Regions from separate parts of the Homo sapiens genome. Here all the other regions are linked to region 3. The links are contacts of gene promoters, found by promoter capture Hi-C in human tissues and cell types (Jung and others, 2019). All regions are on one chromosome and are shown on one strand. The core of a region is centred on a gene start or on the middle of the fragment in contact, and the rest is flanking DNA. Distances in the headings are between cores, read along the strand shown. Region 1 overlaps GABRG3 (gamma-aminobutyric acid type A receptor subunit gamma3). Region 2 overlaps GABRG3 (gamma-aminobutyric acid type A receptor subunit gamma3). Region 3 holds the start of GABRG3 (gamma-aminobutyric acid type A receptor subunit gamma3).

Evidence for each region. The method cuts DNA at HindIII sites, captures the fragments that hold promoters and counts their contacts. A contact is called where the count stands out against the background at its distance.
Region 1: a fragment that was not itself captured here is called in contact with the fragment with the promoter of GABRG3 in region 3 in 1 of the 25 tissues and cell types used here (dorsolateral prefrontal cortex).
Region 2: a fragment that was not itself captured here is called in contact with the fragment with the promoter of GABRG3 in region 3 in 1 of the 25 tissues and cell types used here (dorsolateral prefrontal cortex).

The regions. Positions count from the first base shown.
Region 1 is chr15:27,371,378-27,375,061 of GRCh38, reverse strand. All of the region lies in intron 5 of GABRG3 (gamma-aminobutyric acid type A receptor subunit gamma3), which reads right to left. Among named protein-coding and RNA genes, the nearest start is that of GABRG3-AS1, 210 kb to the right of the region's middle. The HindIII fragment of the contact is 4,328 bases long and covers 90-3,684 here.
Region 2 is chr15:27,350,410-27,353,914 of GRCh38, reverse strand. The region is part of intron 5 of GABRG3 (gamma-aminobutyric acid type A receptor subunit gamma3); the gene reads right to left. Among named protein-coding and RNA genes, the nearest start is that of GABRG3-AS1, 190 kb to the right of the region's middle. The HindIII fragment of the contact is 6,669 bases long and covers 1-3,505 here.
Region 3 is chr15:26,969,475-26,973,181 of GRCh38, reverse strand. GABRG3 (gamma-aminobutyric acid type A receptor subunit gamma3) reads right to left here and starts at 2,001. Exons shown (of 10, transcript NM_033223.5): 1 at 1,594-2,001. The coding sequence starts at 1,646. The HindIII fragment of the contact is 15,270 bases long and covers 1-3,707 here.

The sequences.
Region 1 (3,684 bases), core at 1,004-3,503, 400 kb before region 3:
TCATTTACTACCCACCCCCCCAAAATTATCCACCTTTCTCCATGTCCCTTTCCCCTAAGAAGAGGGGTATATGACCATCTGTACCCCATTGTGTTGGGGGTCATCAGTCTGTGATTGTCCCCAGGGCACATTAATAAATTTGCATGCCATTTTTTCCTATTCATCTGCCTTTTGTCAGTTGATGTTCATCAAGCCTTCCAAGAGCAATGGGGAAGTTTTCCCTTCTCTCCTACAGTTTCCGCCCACTGGAAGTGTCAGGACCTCAGCCAATAATGAACTGAGTTGGAGGACAAACCCTCAGCATCCTCGTCCTCCATCAGGATAACTCTGAGGTGTGGTCCACAACATGGTAACCTGCTCCACACACACCTTGGCGTGGCTGTTTCATTTCCTTATTGTCTACCTTTGCTTCCTTGGTCACCTCCCAGATACACTAGTCAGACTCGGTGCTTGCTACAGGTTCTGCTCTGCACAAACCCACACTTAAACAATAGAAATGCATAGACAATATACAACCAGGGTGTATGGATAAAATGTTAGTTTATGTGTAACAAGAACAAACTTGAAAACAGGCAAATAAAATATTAGATAGATTCCTAAATTTCAAATTGGAAATATATCAATAGAAAATTCACTGGTGCCGTGGTGCATGCCTATAATCCCAGCACTTTAGAAGGCTGAGGCAGGAGGATTGCTTGAGTCCAGGAGTTCGAGACTAGCCTGGGCAACACTGTGAAACAGTTGCTACAAAAAATACAAAAATTAGCCAGGCATGGTGGTGCAAACCTGTAGTCTCAGCTACTCAGGAGGCTGTTGTGGGGGGATCACCTGAGCCTGAGGAGGTCAAGGCTGCAATGAGCCATGTTCTTGCCACTGCACACCAGTCTGGGTGACACACTGAAAAAAAAAAAAAAAAAAAAAAAGAAGAAAAGAAAAGGAAAGAAAATTCTAGGATACATCAGATTGAACTCCTTTTGACAAAGATAATTAGAATTGCATTTATAAAATCATAAGAATTCTTAAAAAACTAAAGAACTTTGGAATCTCCTCTGAGATGAGAAAATAAATAACAAAATAATGAAACATGAAGATATTAGATGGTATTAGAAAGCAGATATTAGATGGTAGCAGATTAATATTACATGGAGATTGTGGCCAACACGTAATAGTGTTTCAGAGAAAAAAAACAAAAAACATCAGCTGACCTGATCAGGAGAACTGATGAGGATTCTCCTTTATTGGTGTTTTCATGATAATTTGAATGTTTATAGATAAAATTATCCATGTTTTAATCATAAATCATCCGGAGAGAAAACTTACTTTCTTGTAATATGAGGGTTAACAAAAACAAACAGCAAAGTAAGCGCCAGAAGTTGCTAAAGGTCAGATTTTCAAAGTAATTTTTTTTTAGTAATTGAATTACCATTAATATAATTAAGTGCTAGTAATATTGATTCAGGGCTTTTTAGAATTGGAAAAGCCCTTTTAATAGACATTGTTAAAACTATTAATTCAACATCCCAAATATAGTGAAGTTACTTGCTAACTTGTAAATTTTTGCCTAGCAGAGATCCAAATAATTTCTGTCTGGCAGAAAAGATAGCCTGGAAGATTGTGGTTTATTTCCCTGTAGGGATTTACTAGGTTTGTATCTAATACAGCAATCTTTTCCCTTAACATATCTTTATTCAATTTTCTACAAATGCCTAGTTCCTTAAATGCTCCTTTAACTGGTATTGTCATTTTACTGAGTTCCTTATTTATTAATGAGTTGATAAAAACACTTGACAGTATTTATTTTATATTCATAAGAATCATCTTAAGTTTTTGAAAATTATAATTTAGAAGCATATAATTCAAGTTCGTTATTTCCTAGGTAGAAATACACTCAGAAAGATTAGGCACCTTTTCCTGATTAAGAGTTGGAGCCCAAGCATCCTAAATCCCAGGCTAGGGTCTCTCTAGTACACGTCACCCTTCTCACTGCATTTTAGTGGCATTTGCGTGCTGTCTCTTTTACAATACTGTAAAGTAGGCAAGGGAAGTCATGAGCATTTTGTAGGTGAAGAAAACTGAACCAGCTGAGAAAATAGCTTGCTGGAGGCCACAGCTGAAGTCATTGCCAAGCAATGTAGCTGAGAAGAAGAAAGCTCACCACCCTATGGCTAATGCCTAAAAAGAGTTCACAGGTACAGTGACAACCACTCAAGGTACAGTGTTCTGGGACTGGGAGAGAGACAGAGGCACCAGGAGGGAAGTGAGTATGAAGAGGCCAGGGAAGTATTCAAAGAGGAGACAGAGTTTGAGCTGGACCATTGAAACAGGCACAATGACAGTAACTCTTTAAATTTAGTGGTGGACTTAAGTTTTAAGAAGGGGACTAAAGCCAGGCACGGTGGCCTAGTACTTCGGAAGGCCAAGGCAAGAGGATCACTTGAAACCAGGAGTTTGAGAACAGCTTGGGCAGCAAAACGAGGCCCCATCTCTATAAAAAATAAAAAATGATTTGGACCTGGTGGCATGTGCCTGTAATCCCAGGTACTTGGGAGGCTGAGGTGAGAGGATTGCTTGACTCCAGGAGTTTGAGACTGCAGTAAGCTATGACTGCTCCACTGCATTCCAGCCTGGGTGACTGAGCGAGACCCTGTTTCTAAAAACTAAATAAATAAATAAATAAATACAAAAAGTTTAAATGAAAATCAAAGTGTTCTATGGCTGTAAGCAGCTCCTTCTTGTAAATAATGTGCAGTTGTTTATCAAACTAGGTTATACTGATAAAACAGACGCAAAACACATACAAGTATTATCTTTAGCCCCATCTAAACTCCTGATATTATTTCAAATATTGGTTTTTCCTAAAATTAAAAATGAAGTCAGAATAATAGTGATATATATATATCTCATATGAAACATACATGGCTTAAAGCTTAATGCTGAGTTAATACTTAAGTATAATTTTGTGCAATACGTGAGGTTTTTATTAACTTAATAAAATATTACTAATTATGTTCTAAGCCAATTAAAGCAATTAATACTGAACAGTATTAATTACAGTAAAAGCAATTAAAGCCCACATCGAAGTGATATTTACTAGGACTATTTCTTGTTGTTTTACAAAAAGATCCAGCATGTCACTTTGTTTTTAACCTATCTAAATGAATTAACATTATCAAATTGTATGTTGCCCATCACGTCTATGTTCTAATTTTAAATAGTATGATACTTTTGAATATTTAGTGTTATTTTGTGTTTTCTAAAATATGTTTATATAAAATATTAATATATGTGAGATGATGAATTCATTATAATTGTTTGCACAGAACTGAGATTTAGGGAACTAGATCACCCCTTTCTAATCCTTTTGTCCTCCTCACATATACAGACTTGGATGCAAACAAGAAAAGTCAGAATCCATAGAAACGAGTTGCCTTTACAGCTTGTCTGTGGCAGCCAATTAGTAAAAGCCTTGGAAGATCATTTAACCTTAACTACAAATGGTGCCCTTGTATTGTGATTTGCATTATTAACTAGATATGGCCACCTTCAATACCACAAACTACAAGGAGAGAGAGAAGCAGTTATAAAAAGGGTTAGATTTTCCTTCTATCAAAATAGATTCCTGCTTCTAAATAATCTTCTTTTTACAGAATGTGATCAGGAATTTCCTTTATGAATTTATATGCA
Region 2 (3,505 bases), core at 654-3,153, 380 kb before region 3:
GGGTGGGAGAGGCAATGAACACAGAAACTAGACCATGCACAGCATCTCAGAGAAAATGGAGTCCAGGGCTGAGGAGCGGGTACTAGTTTACACAAAGAATCTGGGAAGACTTCTTGGATATGGTTACTTTGAAGCCAAGATCTGGAGAATGATTGAAAACTACGCACATACTGGCTGGGCACCACGGCTCACCCCTGTAATCCCAGCACTTTGAGAGGTGAGGTGGGTGGATCACTTAAGGTCAGGAGTTCGAGACCAGCCTGGCCAACACGGCAAAACCCTATCTCTAATAAAAATATGAAAATTAGCCAGATGTGGTGGTGCACACCTGTAGTCTCAGCTACTCGGGAGGCTGAGGTAGGAGAATTGCTTGAACCCCGGAGGCAGGGGTTGCAGTGAGCTGAGATCGTGCCATTGCACTCCAGCCTGGGCAACAGAGCGAAACTCCATCTCAAAAATAAATAAATAAATAAATAAATAAATAAATAGAAAGAAAGAAAACTATGCACACATCTATGGGAAGAGGATTTCACCGGTGTAAGAGAAGAGCTGCTGCAGGGTCCTGAGGCAGGCATGCCCAGCAAGTGTAGGACACACATGCGCCCTGTGGCTGAGCCTATGCAGGAGCAAGCAGAGTGGCTAGGCAGGTACTGGGAAGCCTTGGGGCCATGGTTAGGACTGGCCTTTTGTTCCCAGTGAGATGGAGATTGGTTACAGGAACACAGCTGACCAGTGTGTCTACTCTGATGAGAACAGTGTGTAGGTGCCCAGGTAGGGGCAAGAGGGAACTGCCAGGGTCCCTACAAAGACAGTGAGGGAGGGAAGGAAAAACATCAAGGACAATTCTCAGGTCTGCAAAGGAGGAGTTTTTGTGTAATAAAAAGGGAAAAGAACATGAAGGAACACAGAAGTCGGGAGGTTTGTAGACGTCACACTTCAAATACCTAACACCCAACCATCAAACGATCCACTCGCTTTCAATGGCTCATTGTCAGCAATCGTGATGATAAGATAATGCAGATGCAATGACTTACCAAGTGAGCATGTGCTGGAGTCTTATTTTACGCCCCCCATAGTCCTATGAGTTAGGTGTTGCTATACCTGGGCCCCATATTGCACCCTCCACCTTGCGCTATATCACCCCATGCATCTGCGTGAAACGTGGCATATGGGGAAGACACTGAGCTCCTTTCTCAAGCACAATCCTAGGGACCAATAACCAAGACCGATATCACCCAACGGTTTGGTATGTGGCTGCTGCCTTGGCAGGGGGCTTCCTTGGCCTGCCTCCCCGGGGCAGTGTGGGGTGGTGTGAGCGCCTGTCCCACAGGTCGGACAGAAATAGCACCTGAACAGCAGGCGGCACAGTTCCTCATCCAGACACACTGCCGGCCCCTGTGTTCTCATTCCTAGGATCCAATTCTCGAATCTTTTTCGTACTAATTAGAAGACTATCAATCTGCTTGGCTCACCCTGGATTTACATCTTGTGGGATTTCCTGGGTTATTTTTCTAAGCTTCAGCTAACGGAATAAGAGAAATTGGCAGAGATCCCACCCCATCACCCCTTGAAGTGTGCGGGGGATAATCGTGCTCTCCCTGGGTCCTCTTCCTCTCACTATGGGTCTGGATTTACGCTGTGAACAGTGAGCGCGAGACGGAGATTAGCTGAACGGTCTGGCAGAATCCCTACACTGCCACGCAGTCTTAAAAGGATCCAAGATACACACAAACACACACACCATACACAAACACACACACCATACACAAACACACAATACACACATCATACATACACACACACCATACATACACACATCATACACACACATGCACCATACACACACACACGATACACACATACCATACACACACACACTATACACGCATACACCATAAACCCACACATCATATATACACACACACACCATACACACACATTATACAGACATACACCATACACACACGATAAACACACACCATACACACACAAACACACACACACTATACATACATACACCATACACACACATCATACATACGCACACACCATACACAAACACACCATACAAACACACACACTATACACACATACACCATAAACACACACATCATATATACAGACACCATACACACAAACACACACTATACAAACACCATAAACACACTCATACATACACACATATATATACACACACACACAAATACCCCATACACACACACAGACCATACACACAAACACACACAAATACCCCATACACACACACAGACCATACACACAAACACATACCATACACACACATACCATACACACACAAACGCCATACACACACACCATACACACATACACCATACACACACAAACACCATACACACACCAACACACACACAAACACACCATACACACATACCAACACACACACACCATACACACACCATACAAACATACACACACAAACACACACACCATATACACACACACCATACACACATACACACACACAAACACTATACACACATATACCATACACACACACCATACACACACAAAGGCACTCACACATACACACATATACCATACACACACACACCATACACATACACCATACACACAAACACACCATACACACAACATATACACACAAACACACACACCATACACACAAACACCATACACACAAACACACACACCATACACGCACAAACACCATACACACAAACATACCATACATACACACAAATACACCATACGCACATGCACCATACACACACACCATACTCAAACACACGCACCATACACACACACCATACACACACACCATACACACACTATACACACACATACCATACACACACACACACCATATGCACATACACCATACACACAAACACATCATACACACCATACACACAAGTAAATGCATTCACACACCATACACACACAAACACACACCATATGCACACACAGCATACACACACGATACACACACACAAACACACATGATACACACACACAAACACACACGACACACACACACCATTCACAAGGACAAATACATGGCTGCCTGGCTTGATAAAGGGCTGTGGAGACCCTTTGTCAGCCCAGGCCACAAAGCCTGTCTGTCCTCACCTCAGCACTCGCCCCAGGCCAGTGCCAGGTGTCTGCCAGGTCTGGGGCTGTCTTCCTCCCCCATGGCTCTGGGGACTTCCTCACCAGGCTCTCTCCCTCTCCTGGGCCCATCATGCACCGTCCATCCTCCAGCGCTGGCCCTGGTGGTGTTGATGCGCTGGACTCCCTCCAGACTCCCTCCAGACTCCCTGGACGTAGAGAGGAGGGGGTTTCCACACACATCTGGTCATCTGTGGGTAACTGCTCTCCCACGCCTTCGCCATCTGTCCTACCTGCAACTGCACTGCGAACTCCCTGAGGACAGAAGGCTTCTGCTTATACTGAATGTGTCCATTTTTATTTACTGATATCCATTTGAAAAAACAAAGAAACAATT
Region 3 (3,707 bases), core at 752-3,251:
GCAGTGTTTCTTCTAGAATGTTAAGAATCCAGAGACCTAAACAGTTGATTACTGAACCCTGAACGGCTGGTCACTCGTTTGAGTTGGTGGCAATAGAAAGGTGGCAGAGATGTGACTGCCGGCCTCAGCGTTATGCCCGGTGCTGTCTGCCTCCCTCTCCATCTCTAAACAGAGATACAACCAGGAAGAAGCAACCTCAGAAAGCATGTTTCCATTGCTTGCACCAGCTGCCTCTTGAGACAGAAAGAAACTTCAGCTGAAAGGCCCAAGGAGTGCTCTGTCTCTTTGAAAGAGTTGCCTGTGAGTCACCGGTGGAGTCGGCTTCCACACTCAACTCAGCAAAGAGGAGCAGTTGCAAGGGGGAGGGCCAGGGCTTCCTTCCTCAGGGTAAGCACCCCTGCCCAATTCAGGAGTGAGAACTGGGGGCCCCCTTCATGTTTAGTAGGATTTATTCATGTGTCTTCCTAGCTCCTTGGTAGTTCACAAATAGGAATGAAAAGGCAAGGCCTCCTGGCATTGCCTCCTGATGGTGGCCAGGCTTGTGCACGCAAGGATGCCCTCTGATTCTCTAGCTCCCAGACCCAGGAAATGGAGAAGCGTCAAAACAAGAGGGTTTGGGGGATAGGGGCACGCTGAGCTTCCTAGGGTGGGGAAAGAGGTAAAGGCCAGACACTGCTCCAATTTTCAAATAACAGGACAGTCTGCAAGCTCTAGCCAGAAATCCAGCCAGAGAGACAGAATTAAAGAAACTAAACCCAGAATCTCCAGTTGTGTTTACAGCAACAGGATTTAACCCTTTGGGTCCCACTGTCCTTGTATCCTCATGCGCCCTCTTCATCTCTTCTAGAGTGATTCTAAGCTCCCATTAGCCGGTTGGTGTACTGGGAGGAAGGTTGCGGAATTTATGGTGAGATGATTTCTTACATTACCAGGCAGAAGCCTTATTATCCATTTCGACATGCGTGCTTTATGGGGGTGGGAGTGCGTGTGTTCCTCTGTGTGAAAGTGGCTGATGTGGAAGGTGTGTGTGTGTGTTTGCAGGACCTGGGAGGGGAGTCCTCCCAGACAAGCAGGGCTTTCTTCTGCCCACCTGGTTCCAATCCCCCCGCGCCTGCCTCCAATGCATTAGCTCTTTCCAGCCCGGTCTAAACTAGGCAGTTAGAACCACGGTTCCCGGGTTCTTGGAAATTTCAGAGTGATGGAAATGACAGAGAATGTCAGCCAAAGTGTGTGTGTGTGTGAGCCCCTGAAACAGCTGAGGTGGGAATTAGGGGTCGGTAAGGAGCCAGAAATGGCCCCTGCCCCCTGAACCTGGTTCTCAAAACCCCTTAAAACCACCAGATCCTAAAAGCGTCAGGAGACGAGCCCATTAATCTGAGTCCCCACACTCCCGGCTGCAGAGGAAAAAGCAGATGACCGTGTCCAAGGGAGCTGGGACAGGTGAGGTGCAGACCGACTTCCCAGTCCCCTCCCGGCCCGCCGTGCCGCAGCCCAGCCGACGGCTGGCGCGCCAGGGACTCCAGCAGACAGCGCCCCCCGCCGCCCTGTCGCCCAGCTCGGGGCCTCCGGGGATGCGGCCCCCGCGCCACTTACCGCGCGTGCAAGCCCGAGAACAGGCAGAGGAGGAGCAGCAGCTTCGGGGCCATGGTGCCGTGGAGCTCGGGGCGCAGGGTCCGGGGCCTCGGCCGGGCGCGGCTTCCTCCGGCGCGGACCTGGTCTCCGCCGGCCCTCTTTGCCCTGGCTTCCTCCGAGGCTGCTGGCCGCGGCGGGCGGGACAGGTATCTACTCTGGCGCTGGCCGCGCCCCCGCGGGGCGCACACTGGACGCACACGGGACGCCGGGCCACCGCGGCGCGCCGCCCCCACCCGCGCACTAGCGCCGGTCCGCGCAACCGGGCGGCGGGAGCAATGGGCGCCGGGGACCCCCTGGCGCGGCGCCGCCCACCCCGCCTGGAGCCGCGAGCGGGCGCGGGTGCCCAGGCCGGGGCTGTGTGCGCTGTGCTGGGAGGTGGGGGCAGCTGGGCGGCTGTCCCCTGGCAGCGCCTCCGAGGCGGTCCCGGCGGGGAGGAGTTTCCCCAATTACACGCCTGACAACGCGCAGGGCGAGGAAGGCGAGGTTTGAATGGACTCGGAGTTTGAGGCCAGGAAGGGGGCGGAGCTCCGAGGGGGAGGGGAGGCTGGGGATCCCGCAGGGAGCCTGAAGAAAGGTCCCCGGGGTTGGCACCATGAGAGCGAGCCCGCGGTCCGCCTTCCTCCAGCCATTTCTACCCCAGTGCAGGTTTCCTCCAGCGCTCCCTGACCTCCCGTGCCCGCCGTCGCCCGGGGTTGAGACGGTTTGCCAAAAGCAGCCCTTCCATCGCACTCTTCGTGCTAAGTCGGCTGAACTCCTAGGCACTGATAAGATTCTGTGCTTGGAAAGGTGGCTTTCTGCGGGAATATTTGGGAAAAAAGCACCCCAGATTTATGCCTTTCTTACAGAAAAGAGAGACTAACACATAGCAATAAACAGTAGAGGTGGAAAGGCATGTTAAAGGTAGGAGCTAGAAAGATCCTAAGGCAAGAAGCCAAAGACGTTCCGTTTGGTGGAAGCATGAGGTGCGCCTCATTCCATGTATTTTCATATTCCAAAAACCGAAAATGGCATTTACGCTTTCATTTGTCATAATCATTCAGAAAGTTAGTCTTGCACCATGTAAGTATTGCAATCGCAACAGTGTAGTAAATCCACTAGGAATTTTACATTTCTATCACCCCCAAAAAGTTCTTAGAAAATGTTTTATAACTGCTATTCATAGAATTATGTAAGGGTGTGATAACTGTTTCTTTAATATTGTCAAATAGCTTTGTTCGGCCAGGCACAGTGGCCCAAGCCGGTAACCCCGGCACTTTGGGAGTCCGAGGCAGGCGGATCACTTGACCCCAGGAGTTCGAGACCAGCCTAGGCAATGTGCAAAAACCCTGTCTCTACAAAAAATAGTAAAGAATTAGCTGGGCATGGTGGCATGGGCCTGTATTCCTCTGGTGTGTTCCCCCTTGTTTCTGGATAGGCATGAAGTGGAGGGGAGTGCAGTTGTTAATGACAATATTGTTTTTCAACAATGGAGCTGTCATCTCCCTGGCATCACCTTTCTGTCTCTGTGAGGTGCTGAACTCACCCAGCTCCCCGCCTTTCCAGGACTCTTTCTGGCATTCTCATCCTCCTCTGCCCAGCACATCCCTCCTACTTAGGTGCACATGCCCTATAAGGTCCCCTCTTTGATGAAGACTCTGACGCTCCTGCATTCTTCCACTTCCAACACCTGTACCACTCCTTTAGGCTTCAGGGGAATATGAGCCTTTATCATACTCTGCCCTAATCTCTAATTTTCTGTACCAAAATCTGAGCACTTTAAAAATCAGTTAGATGATGATTTATTGTTCCTTCATTGCTTATGTCGTCTCCACATAAGAGACTTGAGTCTCACTCTATCGCCCAGGCTGGAGTGCAGTAGTGTCATCTGGACTCACTGCAATCTCCACCTCCCGGGTTCAAGTGATTCTCGTGCCTCATCCTCCTGAGTAGCTGGGATTACAGGCACCCACCACCACGCCTGGCTAATTTTTGTATTTTTAGTAAAGATGGGGTTTCACCATGTTGGCCAGGCTCTTCTGCAACTCCTGACTTCAAGTAATCTGCTCGCCTCGGCCTCCCAAAGTGCTGAGATTACA